Linked DNA regions of Homo sapiens: all the other regions are linked to region 1. The links are contacts of gene promoters, found by promoter capture Hi-C in human tissues and cell types (Jung and others, 2019). All regions are on one chromosome and are shown on one strand. The core of a region is centred on a gene start or on the middle of the fragment in contact, and the rest is flanking DNA. Distances in the headings are between cores, read along the strand shown. Region 1 holds the start of SREBF2 (sterol regulatory element binding transcription factor 2). Region 2 overlaps DESI1 (desumoylating isopeptidase 1). Region 3 overlaps XRCC6 (X-ray repair cross complementing 6). Region 4 has its middle 31 kb from the start of NAGA.

Region 1 (3,206 bases), core at 168-2,667:
GTAGTGAGATCCTGGACATGAAAGCATTCTGAAAACTGAAAAGTACAATGCACCTGTGTTTCTGCCTAAGCTCTCTAAGGTGAGTGGCCTTAGATAAGTCAACATCTCCTGGCCTCGGCTTCTTTAATTACCGTATTAAAATAGAGGTAATAAGAGTATCTCACAGGATTGTTGTGAGGAAGAAGTGAAATAATACAAAGCATTTTGGGGCCTAAACATAAGAGTGCAACTATCCAGTTAATAAGATTACTAGCCTAGTCAACTGGACTCTTTCTTGAAAGGAGGGGTATAAAAAAACCAATACTGGCCAAGGAACTGCAAGAACTAGGCTCTAACCAGCTGGGTGACCTTGAGCAAGCCGCTGACCCTCTCCAAATCGTTGTTCCCGTGGTCGCAAAATTAGTATTTTAAGAGTGGATCCCTGGGCTCCTACCAGCTCTTCCACTCCGCTGTTAAGGCGCTGGAACAAAGGCCACCCGCTCCCCAGCCCGTACCCGAGGGGCCACAACTCAAAATTTCTTCTGCTCAATTCCCCTTGCAGCGTGACAGCAGGAGCGCCCGGGTCTCCATCCCGGAGAGATGTGTCCACACTCCGCCGCCACTGCTCTCTTCATCAGCAACTTGCTTCTGCAGTCGCTGCCCAAAGTTTCGCGGAGCACCCGGCGACCTGGCCGTCGGTCAATCCTGAGAAGCCCAGGGATTCGGGGCGCGGAGACTGGGGGCTGGGCCCCGGGAATCCCAAAGACGTCCCCGCGGCCAGGAAGGGAGTGACAGGTGCGACGCGCGGTCGCGGGCGGCGGGAGAGCGGACCACGGAAACCGCGTGTGGGCGCGCGAGGGAGGCGGCGGCCACGCGCTCTCCTTAGGCCGCTCCCTGAGACGCCCCCGCGACGTCCCTAGCCCCGCGCTCTGGAACCCGCGACCCTCGCGCCGCTTTCGGCCCCGCGGCGCCCCAGATCCCACGGCCTCCCGGAGCGGCGCAGCTGGGTCGGGCTCACGCTCGCAGCGCCGGAAGGGTTGAGGACCGCCGGGGGCACCGTGCGCACGGGGTTCTTCCCGCGCGAACCGGGGCTGTCGGGGGGTGGGCGCACGCGCACCCGGGCGCGCCGCCGTAACCCCTTCCTCCCCGCGCGGCCCCCGCACTCCCACCCACCCACCACTCACCGTCGATGTCTCCCAGGGTCAGCTCGTCGCCCAGCTCCGTGAGGGTCTCCATGGTCTCCAGACCACCCAGCTCGCCGCTGTCGTCCATCGCCCGGCTCAGCGCAGAAGCCCCCCCTGCCGTCCCGCTCAGGGAGACGCGGGGGCGGTGCCGTCGCCACCGCCCATGACACCCGACAACCCCCGCCCGGCACCGCCTCACCGACGGGTGCCACCCGCCGCCATGTTTGCGTTGCGCCCGGGCGCCGCACAGAAAGGGCGGGGCGGGATTCCCCCGCCCCAGCCCGCGCCCCCTGCGGCCCCGCCTCCAGGCCGCGCGCCCCCCTGTTTGTTGTCAATGGGACCAGGCTCATCTCAGCCAATGGGCGAGCGAAGCGGTGCGTGGGGTGATGGCGCGTCATCGATCAGCAGCTCAGATTTGCATAGTGAGGTCCCTCCCCCCGCGGCCTCGGAGCGAATGCCTGGAGTAGCCGTCCGGTCATCATCTTAACCTTCTCCGCCTTGTTTAAAGGAGCCGCTGCCTTCTCCGTTGGATCTGCGCCACACGCAAGTCCGTCCACTGGCCTGGGAGTGAAGGGTTAACAGGCCACCCTCCACCTGCGACCGCTGGCCGCCTCCAGGCCTGGCTGGGAGCACATTACGTCATCTTCCCAGCTGCCTACCCCCGCCCTGCCCGCCTGAGAAAGCCAGCGGAGTCAAACCTGGACCCCAGCGCTCGGGACGGGAGTCCGGGTCATCCAAGTCCCGCTTCTCCCAGCCTCCTTACAAAGGCGGGCACGGAGGCTTGACAAGGTTGCAGATTGTCCCAGGGCGGTCAGGATTTTACGTCTTCTGCTTTGCACCCGCCGTGACCTCGCGCTTACTCCAGTGGTCCTCAATCTCTGGCACCTCGGAACCACTGAGGACCTGAAAACCACGCCAGTGCCCAGGCCCACCGACGGCCTCCTGAGAGGGGGGCCCCGGGCACGAGTTTTTTGAAAAAGTTCCACCGGGATTCTGAAGTGCAGCCCACCCACTCCTTCAAGCACCTCACTGCCCCATCTTGCAGCTGGTCGTGTTGTAAACTTCTAGGAATTTATCCAAAGGAATAAAAATTACAAGTGCTTAAAGAAGTGCTGTAACTAGGAAGAAGTGAGAATAAGGAAATGAATATGTAAATTACATCCACACGATGGAATACCATGGGATCATTAAAAATTACGCACACAAATGTATATTTATTAGCAAGAAAAGGCGTTCACAATATATTGATAAAAGGGAAAAGTTGAAGTTTCCTGCCAGTTTGTGAGAGGCAGCTGTTGCTTAGTGATCAATAATTAAGAACACACAGGCTGTGTGGAGGCAGACACATGGATCCACTAATTCACTGTGACCTTGGGTTAATTGTTCTAAGCCTCAGTTTAGTCATCTCTAAAATGGGGATAAAATAGCATCCCTCATAGCTGTGGTTAAGTGAGATTATTTGCACATTCAATTGACAATATTTATTGAACATCTCTGTGGCAGGGAAACAAATGGTTCCTGCCCTCTGAGAGCTTCCAGTCTAGCAAAAAAAAAAATCAGAAATCCCACACCCGTATTAAACATAAAAATAAATTACAGATGATGGTACAAGTGATCAAGGAAAGGTAATGGATGTGATGAAACTAACAAGGGCCCTGACTTGTGCTGTCAAGAAGCCTCTGAAGAAGTGACATTTAAGATGAAACCTAAAATTATGAGAGAACTGCAGCTGTTACAGCCAAAGGGGAAATGATGACATGGACAAAGGCCTCGAGGCAGGAGGAGCTGCTGGCAGCCAGCTCTCGGCATAAGCTTTGGCATACAGTAAGTGCCTTGCATACTGCTGTATTGCAATTGAAAAAATAAGGATCTGGCCAGGCGCGGTGGCTCACACCGGTAATTCCAGCACTTTAGGAGGCCGAGGTGTGCAGATCATTTGAGGTCAGGAGTTGGAGACCAGCCTGACCAACATGGTGAAACCCCGTCTCTACTAAAAATACAAAAATTAGCCGGGTGTGGTGGCGCATGCCTGTAATCCCAGCT
Region 2 (3,356 bases), core at 459-2,958, 230 kb after region 1:
TACAGGTGCATGCCACCACACCCAGAGAGTTTTTTTATTTTTATTTTTAGTAAAGACTGGGTTTCTCTGTTGGCCAGGCTGGTCTTGAACTCCTGGCTTCAAGTAATCTGCCTGCCTCGGCCTCCCAAAGTGCTGGGATTACAGGGGTGGGCCACTGTGACATGTCTGAAGTAGAATTTATTTTTATCTTCTGGAAGTCTTTACCCTTTTCCCCAAGGAGGTCATTGTACCTAATAAGAGCCTCCATTTATCAGACATCTGTATATCACATACTGTGAAGCTTTCTATACATTAACATTACCAGTCACAGCAACTCTGAACTGGAGAAACAGACTTAAACAGGCTGGGTAAACTTGCCCAAGATCCACCACTAGGAAGTGGAAAATCCAGGATCTGAACCCATATGGTCCCCTTAACTATCTCTGAGGATGCTATGCCAAGTGTGTGGTGGCTCATGCCTGTAATCCTAGCACTTTGGGAGGCTGAGGCAGGTGGATCACTTGAGGCGAGGAGTTCGAGACCAGCCTGGCCGACATGGCAAAATCCTGTCTCTACTAAAAATACAAAAATCAGCCGGGCTTGGTGGTGCATGCCTGTAATCCCAGCTACTTGGGAGGCTGAGGCATGAGAATCACTTGAACCCGGGGGGCAGAGGTTGCAATGAGCCGAGATCACGTCACTTCACTCCAGCCTGGGCAACAGAGAGACTCTGCCTCTAAAAAAAAGAAAGGCACAGGGCAAACAGCGAAGGTAGCAGTTAGCAATCAGTAATCTGCCATGTCGCCGTGTGAAGTGATAAGCAGGAGTGAGTGGGTGATGTTTGCTGACACTCCACGTCTTTCAATGCCCTTCCTCTGCCTCCTGAGCACTGCTGTAGAGTATCTCTCATGGACTCTTGTGATGGTCTGCTTGGTCTGCTCTCTTCCCTCCAATTCATCTGCTATCCCACAACTACAGTTATCTTTTCCGAACATGGATCTGATCAAGGCACTCTCCAGCCTCACAGCCTCTTTGAGTCCAGGCCTGCCCGCTTTGCTGGCCATCCTGTTGGCCGCTCCTCCCCTTGGCACCATCACTGCCCCCTTCACTCTGCCCTGCAGGCTTTAGACTTCACAGCCATGCATGTGCACATCTTGTTCTCTCCCACAGAAATGTCCATCCCTGCCCTTACTTGTCATTGGTAATGGAAGCTCACAAAAGTAGTTTATTATATTTAGTACCTTATTTTTACCACTATGATACAGCATATTAACATTGTGTTTTAGTTAATTATTTGTGTGTCTCAGTCCATTTGACTTTGAGCTTCTCAAGGGCAGGAAAGTGATACGTTCCTGTTTGCATTTCCACACCTAACATTGTTTCTGGCACATAGAGGTAGAATAACGTGCTTTAACTATTTAAATGGATAGCATTTGCAAAGTTTTATCCTATCAGTTTCTGAAGGATTTCACCTCAATGAAGAAATGAGTAATAACATTCATTGTATTACTATAGTCTTACTGTACGTGAGACAGAGAAGTTAAAAAGGCATAGCTGAATTGACCCCAAAGAGGAAAGAATAGCAGACATAAAACTGGGGTACCTTTATACTAGTGTTTTTAATCTTGCATTCTGATAAAAGACTCTCATTACTTTTCAACTTACTTACACTCTGTCACAACCTAAAGACCTTACTGGAGGGGACTTGCATTCCTAGAAAGTCCCTCAAGAGGTTTATGACAGGTTACCCTGGGTTTGAGTGATGTCATGAATTTACCAAGGCTGAGGGGCCACTTATTCTAGTCCCAAGTGGCTAAATCTCTTCTTCTCTCCACAGGGAAACAACTGGAAGGCATCTGGTAAGTTGGGTGGGTCTCCTTACTTTGACTAGTTTTGAAACAAGGCAGCACTCTATGCATTTCAGGTTCTAGTCTGTGGCTTCCAGCATGAAACCTAGCTCTCCATGCTATAAATCTTCAAGCCCTAAAGCAGTGCTTCTCATCAGTTCTTTTGCTCTCTCACCCTGGGACATTTGGCCATGTCCAGAGATATTTTTGGTTGTCATACAGGGAGGAGGATGCTACTGGCATCTTGTGGATAGAGGCAGGGACGCTGCTCAACAGACTAGAATGCACAGGACAGCCCCACACAACAAAGAAGTATCCAGCCTCAAATGTCAATAGTGCCAAGATTGAGAAGCCCTGATCTGTGGTATTTATCATATTCATACCTTTGGTTTGTTGGTTTTATAAGACTGGTCCCCACAGTCCTATCCTTGGGCAGAAATTACTCTCATTGCATTATGGTGTTTGCTTTTTCTCAAAAGTTTAAGTTTTCTGGCTTACTGTGTCTCTCTCTGTGTGACAGGCACACATCCATAGTTGTGCACAAGGATGAGTTCTTCTTCGGCAGTGGTGGTATCTCCAGCTGCCCCCCGGTGAGTGTCTTCCCCTACACTCTGTCCTGCAGTCTCAGGTTCCTGGGGGCTCCTGTAGACCAGGAGCTTTGCTTCTACTATGGACTTCTGGCATTGTTCCTCAAAGCCACCTGAAGACTTGGCTCAATAAAACCTTTCCCAGACACCCCAGCCAGTTCCTCTCCTCTCTGTTCCCATGGCACGTGTGGGTCCTTCTGTCTCACAGAGAGCATGTTATGGTGAAATGAGCTGTTTCTGGTTCTCCACAGGGAACTGTGTAAGCTCCTTGCGAGCTGAGACCTTCCATCTCCATCCCCTGCACAGTGTCCGGCTCATCCTAGGAACGCAACTGATGTTAAGCTGAATGATGAGGGCTCTGAGAAGCATCAAGACTTGCCCAAACTTAAACAGCCAATAAGGGACACCAGTCCTAGAACCCAGGATTATCACACTAAAGCCCACACCCTTTTCCGAAAATTTCTTTTTTTTTTTTTTTTTTTTTTTTTTTTGAGATGGAGTCTCGCTCCGTCGCCCAGACTGAAGTGCAGTGGTGCGATCTCGGCTCACTGCAAGCTCCGCCTCCCGGGTTCGCGCCATTCTCCTGCCTCAGCCTCCCGAGTAGCTGGGATTACAGGTGCCTGCCACTACACCCAGCTAATTTTTTGTATATTTTAGTAGATACGGTGTTTCAGCATGTTGGCCAGGCTGATCTCAAACTTCTGACCTCGTGATTAGCCCACCTCGGCCTCCCAAAGTGCTGGGATTACAGGCGTGAGCCACAGCGCCCAGCCTTTTCCAAAAATTTCTATCAGCTATCCAAGTGTTGTCACAGTAGGTGCTCAAGCAATGGCCAAGCAGCCATTCATTTTGGTTGTGTGTTTGTTTGTTTTTGCTACATCCTACAGGAAGGATTTTTTTTTTTTTTTTGAGACGGGGTCTTGCTCTGTCACCCAGGCCAGAA
Region 3 (2,999 bases), core at 22-2,521, 170 kb after region 1:
ATCTGGTGGGTAAACAAGCTCCTTAAACTCATCCACCAAGGAGCCCAGTCTTTTATTCATTGCTTCAACCTTGGGCACTAGAAAATCAAAACACAGAAGAGTGGCCTGGTGAGTCACGAGCCCCAGCTTGCTGTCCACTTCCAGAACTCTCTGAGAACCAGAAGAGAGAGCACCTAACTGCTAAGGTGGGAGGGGTCTAGGGAAATGTCTTTCCAGCATTTACCAAGTACCTTCCAACACCTGCATTTACTGTAATTACACATACTACCGCCAGGCACTGTTGTAAATGCTTTAAACTTACTCTATTTACTCCTTCTAACAACCTATAGGATAGGTAAATTTGTCCCCAGTTTTTTTTTTTTTAGATTTTTTTTTGAGATGGAGTCTTGCTCTGTTGCCAGGCTGGAGTGCAGTGGCGCGATCTTGGCTCACTGCAACCTCCGACTCCCTGGTTCAAGCGATTCTCCTGCCTCAGCCTCTTGATTTGTCCCCAGTTTTACAGAGGAGAAAAGGAGAGAGATTACATGACTTTCCCAAAGGGCAGTGGTACAGTGGAGATACTAAGCTAGATTCTGGGAATTCAAACAAGTGCTCATGCCTGCGGTGAGCTTACAGCCCAGTGAGAGAGAGGAGGTGGATAAAAACGATGCAGTGGAGTTGGGCAACACCATGCAAGAAGCGACTGTACAGGCACACTGGAACACAGGAGGGGTGGTGAAAGATAAGAAGCAGAAGGCACTGGGAGAGAAATAGCAGGTGACATATAGCTGGAAGGTAGGGTGTTAAGGAGGACAGGGCCAGCAGAGAGGTGAGAAAGATGGGTATGATGAGGTCATGGAAGCTGGGATGCCTGCCAAGGAATTAGGCCTTATCCAAAGAATCCCCTGATAGCTGCATGGAGGGTGAACTGAAAGAGGGTAAGATAAGACAGGTGAAGTGGGGTGTGGGTGGGAGGACCCATAAACATGAGAAGTGACAGAACTGGCAGGACTTACTGATAGAATAGGATTTATTATTTAACTGAAATCACAGAGCTGGAAACCAGAATGTAAGAAGAATAGGAGTGGGATGGGGAGATGACTGGCTGAAACAGGGGGAGCAAGTATGACAGGAAAAGGCAACTTTGGAGGAAAGATCATACTTTTGTTTCCTTTTTTGTTAGCTTACAACTATATTGTTAAATCAAGCTTCTGACATGAGCTGTGTCACATCAAGGGCAAGGGTGATGAGATGGGCAGCTCACATGCCCGTATTTGCCAAGCATGGAGGGGAGCTCTTGCTGGTGTACCTAGATGGCACAATGCTGGAGCCAAACTGTGCTCCTGCTGCATCAGAAGTCCCCTGGTCCACATCATGGGAACCTCTGCAAGAGCACTGGCTCCCAATCTGGGAATCATCTGTAGAGTTTTAAAAGTACAGAGAAGCTGGGTGCAGTGGCTCTTGCCTGTAATCCCAGCACTTTGGGAGGCCGAGGCGGGTGGATCACCTAAGGTCAGGAGTTCAAGATGAGCCTGGCCAATATGGTGAACCCCCATCTCTACCAAAAAATACAAAAATCAGCCAGGCATGGTGGCGGGTGCCTGTAATCCCAGCTACTCGGAAGGCTGAGGCAGGAGAACTGCTTGAGCCTGGGAGCCAAAGGTTTCAGTGAGCCGAGATCCCACCACTGCACTTCAGTCTGGGTGACAAGAGTGAGAACCTGTCTCAAATGAATGAATGAATGTACTGAGGTCCAGCCTATGCTCAGTACTAAAAATAAAAATAAAAGTAGTGAGCATGGTGGCTTATGCCTATAATCCCAGAACTTTGGGAGGCCGAGACAGGTGGATCACTTGAGGTCAGGAATTTGACACCAGCCTGGCCAACATGGTGAAACCCAATCACTAATAAAAACACAAAATAGGCCGTGCGCAGCGCCTCCTGCTTGTAATCCCAGCACTTTGGGAGGCCAAGGCGGGCGGATCACAAGGTCAGGAGATCGAGACCATCCTAACCCAGTGAAACCCCGTCTCTACTAAAAATACAAAAAAATTAACCGGGCTTGGTGGCAGGCACCTGTGTCCTAAACTACCTTGCTAGGCACTAGGCCACCGACTTCTGAATTTGCCTAAGGCCTGAAAGGAGGAGATGGGCTGTTTAGCTCAAAACGTTTCTCTTTCGCCAGACACAGCTAAGCAGGCACCACAGTAACAATGGTCCAATAACTCTTCTGCTTTTAACACTGGGGCTATTTTGTCTAAAATAGATCATTCTGAGACCAGCCGGGCCATCATGGCGAAATCCCGTCTCTACTAAAAATACAAAAATTAGCCGGGCGGGGACCAACTGCTCGGGAGTCTGAGACACGAGAATAGCTTGAACCTAGGAGGCAGACGTAAGCCACTACGCCCGGCTGCGAGTCGCTGGATTCTAAACCCAAATCCACCACTTATTTCCTCTTAAATTATTTATTGATTTTTTGTTTTTGTTTTGTTTTTTGAGACAGCGTCTCGCTCTGTCACCAGGCTGGAGTGCAGTGGTGCAATCTCGGCTCATTGCAGCCTCTGCCTCCTGAGTTCAACCGATCTTCCTGCCTCAGCCTCCCGAGTAGCTGGGACTACAGGCACACGCCACCACACCCAGCTAATTTTTTGTATTTTTAGTAGAGACAGAGTTTAGTAGAGACAGAGTAGAGACATGTTGGCCAGGATGGTCTCAATCTCTTGACCTCGTGATCCACCCGCCTCGGCCTCCCAAAGTGCTGGGATTACAGGCATGAGCCACCGTGCCCAGCCTCTTATATTATTTTTTAAATTTCACCAGCATGTAGTCACAGGGCGGCCTAGTGCAGAGGCAGGTCTCAGAAGCCTGACACTCTCCTCCTCTCACTATGGAACCAGCCAAATCTGTTCCCTGGCTGTTTAAGCTGGTCTGGAAAAGCTTCCAAACAGAGGGGGTCTGGGGAATGAGGTTAAGTGTTTAGAGAGGACTGGGAAATGCACCCAAATTACTGGTGCAGA
Region 4 (3,449 bases), core at 268-2,767, 210 kb before region 1:
CAGACAAAACAGACTTTTTTTTTTTTTTTTTTTTTTTAAAGACAGAACCTCGCCCTGTTGCCAGGCTAGAGTGCAGTGGCATGATCTCGGCTCACTGTAACCTCCGCCTCCTGGGTTCAAGTGATTCTCCTGCCTCAGCCCCCCGAGTAGCTGGGACTACAGGTGTGTGCCACCACGCCCAGCTAATTTATATATTTTTAGTAGAGATGGGGTTTCACCATGTTGGCCAGGATGGTCTCGCTCTCTTGACCTCGTGATCTGCCTGTCTCAGCCTCCCCTCCCAAAGTGCTGGGATTACAGGCGTGTGCCACTGTGCCCAGCCAAAACAGACTTTTAAGTCCAAAACTGTTACTAGGGACAAAGAAAGTCATATAATGATAAAAGTTTCAATTCAACAGGAAGCTATAACAATTATAAACATGTATGTACTGAACATCAGAGCACTTAAATATATAAATCAAATATGGACAGATATGAAGAAAGAGGTTAAAAACAATTTAATAGTAGGAGAATTCAATATTCCACTTTTAATAATGGATAGCACATTCAGGCAGACAACCAATAAAAAAACAACTGATTTGAATAACACTATACACCAAATGGACCTAACATACAGAACGTTTTAGCCAACAGCAGCAGAATACAATTTCATCTCAAGTATACATGGAACATATTCCAGGATAGGTCACATCTTAAGTCACAAAACAAGTTTTAACAAATTTAAGAAGATTGAAATAATACCTGGTATCTTCTTAGGCCACAGTGGAAAGAACTAGAAATCGGTAACATAAAGAAAATAGAAAAATTCACAAATTCATAAAAACAATACACTCTTGAACAACTGGATAAAAGAGGAAATCCAGAGAGAATTTTAAAATATCTTGAGACAAAAATAAAATTCTAACTTTCTAAAATTTACAGGAATCAGCAAAAGCAGTTCCATAAGGGAAATGTATAGCATTAAACACCTATGTTTAAAAAGAAGAAAGATCTCGGTCAGGCGAGGTGGCTCACACACCTGTTATCCCAGCACTTTGGGAGGCCGAGGCAGGCAGATCACTTGAGGTCAGGAGTTCAAGACTAGCCTGGCGAACATGGTGAAACCTCGTCTCTACTAAAATACAAAAAATTAGCCAGGCGTGGTGGCAGGCAACTATAATCCCAGCTACTCAGGAGGCTGAGGCAGGAGAATTACTTGAACCCAGGAGGCGGAGGTTGCAGTGAGCTGAGATCGCACCATTGCACTCCAGCCTAGGCAACAGAGCAAGACTCTGTCTAAAAAAAAAAAAAGAGAGAGAGAGAAGATAGATCTCAATTAAAGAACCTAACATTGGCCAAGGCATGGTGGGAGGCCAAGGCGGGTGGATCACTTGAAGTCAAGAGTTCGAAACCAGCCTGTCCAACATAGTGAAACCCCATGTCTACTAAAAATACAAAAAATTAGCCGGGTATGGTGGTGCCTGCCTGTAGTCCCAGCTACTCTGGAGGCTGAGGCAGGAGAATCGCTTGAACCCAGGAGGCGGAGGTTGCAGTGAGCTGAGGTTGAGCCACTGCACTCCAGCTCTGGGTAACAAAACAAGACTTCATCTCGAGGAAAAAAAAAAAAAAAACCTAACTGTACAAATCAAGAAACTAGAAAAAGAGGAACAAACTCGACCCAAAGTTAGCAGAAGGACAGAAATAAGAAAAATTAGAGCAGAAATAAACAAAATAGAGAATAGAAAAAACTAAGTTGGCTTTTTAAAAAGATCAACAAAATCATCAAGCCTTTAGCTAGATTAAAAAAGAAGATTCAAATAAATAAAATCATAAATAAGAGAGGAGACATTACAATGGATGACACAGAAATAAAAAGGATCATAAGGGACTATTATGACAACCTATATGCCAATAAATGGAATAACCTAGAAGAAATGGATAAATCCTTAGTAACACACACACTACCAAGACCGAATCAAGAAGAAACAGAAAGTCTGAGCAGACCAATAACAAACAAGGAGTTGAATCAGTAATCAAAAACATTCCAGGCTGAGCGTAGTGGCTCACACCTATGATCACAGTACTTTGGAACGCTGAGCCAGGAGGATTGCTTGGGCTCTAGAGTTTGAGACCAGCCTAGGCAACACAGGAAGACCTCACTGATACTGGAAAAAAAAAAAAAAAGCCTGTAATCCCAGCACTTTGGGAGGCCAAGGCGAGTGGATCACCTGAGGTCAGGAGTTCGACACCAGCCTGTCCAACATGGTGAAACCCTGTCTCTACTAAAAAAAAATACAAGAATTAGCCAGGCATGGTGGTGGGCGCCTGTAATCCCAGCTACTTGGGAGATGGAGGCAAGAGAATTGCTTGAACCCAGGAGACGGAAATTGCAGTGAGCCGACACAGTGCCACTGCACTCCACCCTGGGCAACGGGGTGAGACTCTGTCTCAAAAAAAAAAAAAAATTAGCCAGGAATGGTGGTGTGCACCTGTAGTCCCAGCTACGTAAGAGAGGCTGAGGCAGGAGGATCACCTGAGCCCAGGAGATTGAGGCTGCAGTGAGCAATGATCATACCACTGCACTGCAGCCTAGGCAACAGAGTAAGACCCTATCTCGAAAAAGAAAAAAAAAATCCAGCTGGACGCAGTGGCTCACGCCTGTAATCCCAGCACTTTGGGAGGCCGAGGTGGGTGTATCACCTGAGGTCAGGAGATCGAGACCATCCTGGCTAACACGGTGAAACCCCGTCTCTACTAAAAGTACAAAAAATTAGCTGGGCGTGATGGCAGGTGCCTGTAGTCCCAGCTACTCGGGAGGCTGAGGCAGGAGAATGGCGTGAACCCGGGAGACGGAGCTTGCAGTGAGCCAAGATCACACCACTGCACTCCAATCTGGGCAACAGAGCGAGACTTGGTCTCAAACAAAAAAAAAATCCAACAAAGAAATGCCCAAGACCGGATGGTTTCATATGCTAATTCTACCAAATATTCAAAGAACACTAGGCCTTCTTAAACTCTTCCAAAAATTAAAAAAGAGAATGCACTCCCAAACTCATTTTATAAAGTCAGCATCACCCTGATTCCAAAGCTAAAGATAACATAAGAAAATTACCAGGCAATATCCCTGATGAACATAAATGCAAAAATCGTTAATAAAACACTAGCAAACCAAATTCAACAGCACATTAAAATGATTATACAACATGATAGAGTGGGATTTATCCATAGGATACAAGGTCAGTTAACATATGAAAATCAACCAATGTAGTAAATCACAATAAGAGGAAGGAAACACAAAAAACAGATGATCACATCAGTAGACCTAGAAAAAGCATTTGACAAAAGTCAACATCCTTTCATGATAAAGACTCAACAAAACAAGTATGGAAGAAATTTACCTCAATGCAATAAAGGTCACTTATGAAATGCCCACAACTAACATCACACTCAATGGTGAAAGACTGAAAGCT

The links. The method cuts DNA at HindIII sites, captures the fragments that hold promoters and counts their contacts. A contact is called where the count stands out against the background at its distance.
Region 2: a fragment that was not itself captured here is called in contact with the fragment with the promoter of SREBF2 in region 1 in 1 of the 25 tissues and cell types used here (mesenchymal stem cells).
Region 3: a fragment that was not itself captured here is called in contact with the fragment with the promoter of SREBF2 in region 1 in 2 of the 25 tissues and cell types used here (hippocampus and lymphoblastoid cells).
Region 4: a contact is called between a fragment that was not itself captured here and the fragment with the promoter of SREBF2 in region 1, in 1 of the 25 tissues and cell types used here (dorsolateral prefrontal cortex).

What each region holds. Positions count from the first base shown.
Region 1 is chr22:41,831,316-41,834,521 of GRCh38, reverse strand. It overlaps SREBF2 (sterol regulatory element binding transcription factor 2), which reads right to left and starts at 1,417. Exons shown (of 19, transcript NM_004599.4): 1 at 1,164-1,417. The coding sequence starts at 1,251. CCDC134 (coiled-coil domain containing 134) reads right to left here. Exons shown (of 7, transcript NM_024821.5): 7 at 2,358-3,206. SREBF2-AS1 (SREBF2 antisense RNA 1) reads left to right here. Exons shown (of 2, transcript NR_157279.2): 1 at 1-79; 2 at 542-3,206. RefSeq lists silencers at 724-1,113, 1,174-1,513 and enhancers at 1,292-1,948, 1,554-2,063, 2,890-3,206. The HindIII fragment of the contact is 7,421 bases long and covers 221-3,206 here.
Region 2 is chr22:41,606,322-41,609,677 of GRCh38, reverse strand. DESI1 (desumoylating isopeptidase 1) reads left to right here. Exons shown (of 6, transcript NM_015704.3): 2 at 1,817-1,838; 3 at 2,347-2,416. Among named protein-coding and RNA genes, the nearest start is that of DESI1, 13 kb to the left of the region's middle. The HindIII fragment of the contact is 5,368 bases long and covers 1-3,356 here.
Region 3 is chr22:41,658,409-41,661,407 of GRCh38, reverse strand. XRCC6 (X-ray repair cross complementing 6) reads right to left here. Exons shown (of 13, transcript NM_001469.5): 12 at 1-77. Among named protein-coding and RNA genes, the nearest start is that of SNU13, 29 kb to the left of the region's middle. The HindIII fragment of the contact is 4,770 bases long and covers 1-2,999 here.
Region 4 is chr22:42,038,070-42,041,518 of GRCh38, reverse strand. It overlaps a transcript of WBP2NL not described here. Among named protein-coding and RNA genes, the nearest start is that of NAGA, 31 kb to the left of the region's middle. The HindIII fragment of the contact is 5,011 bases long and covers 1-3,449 here.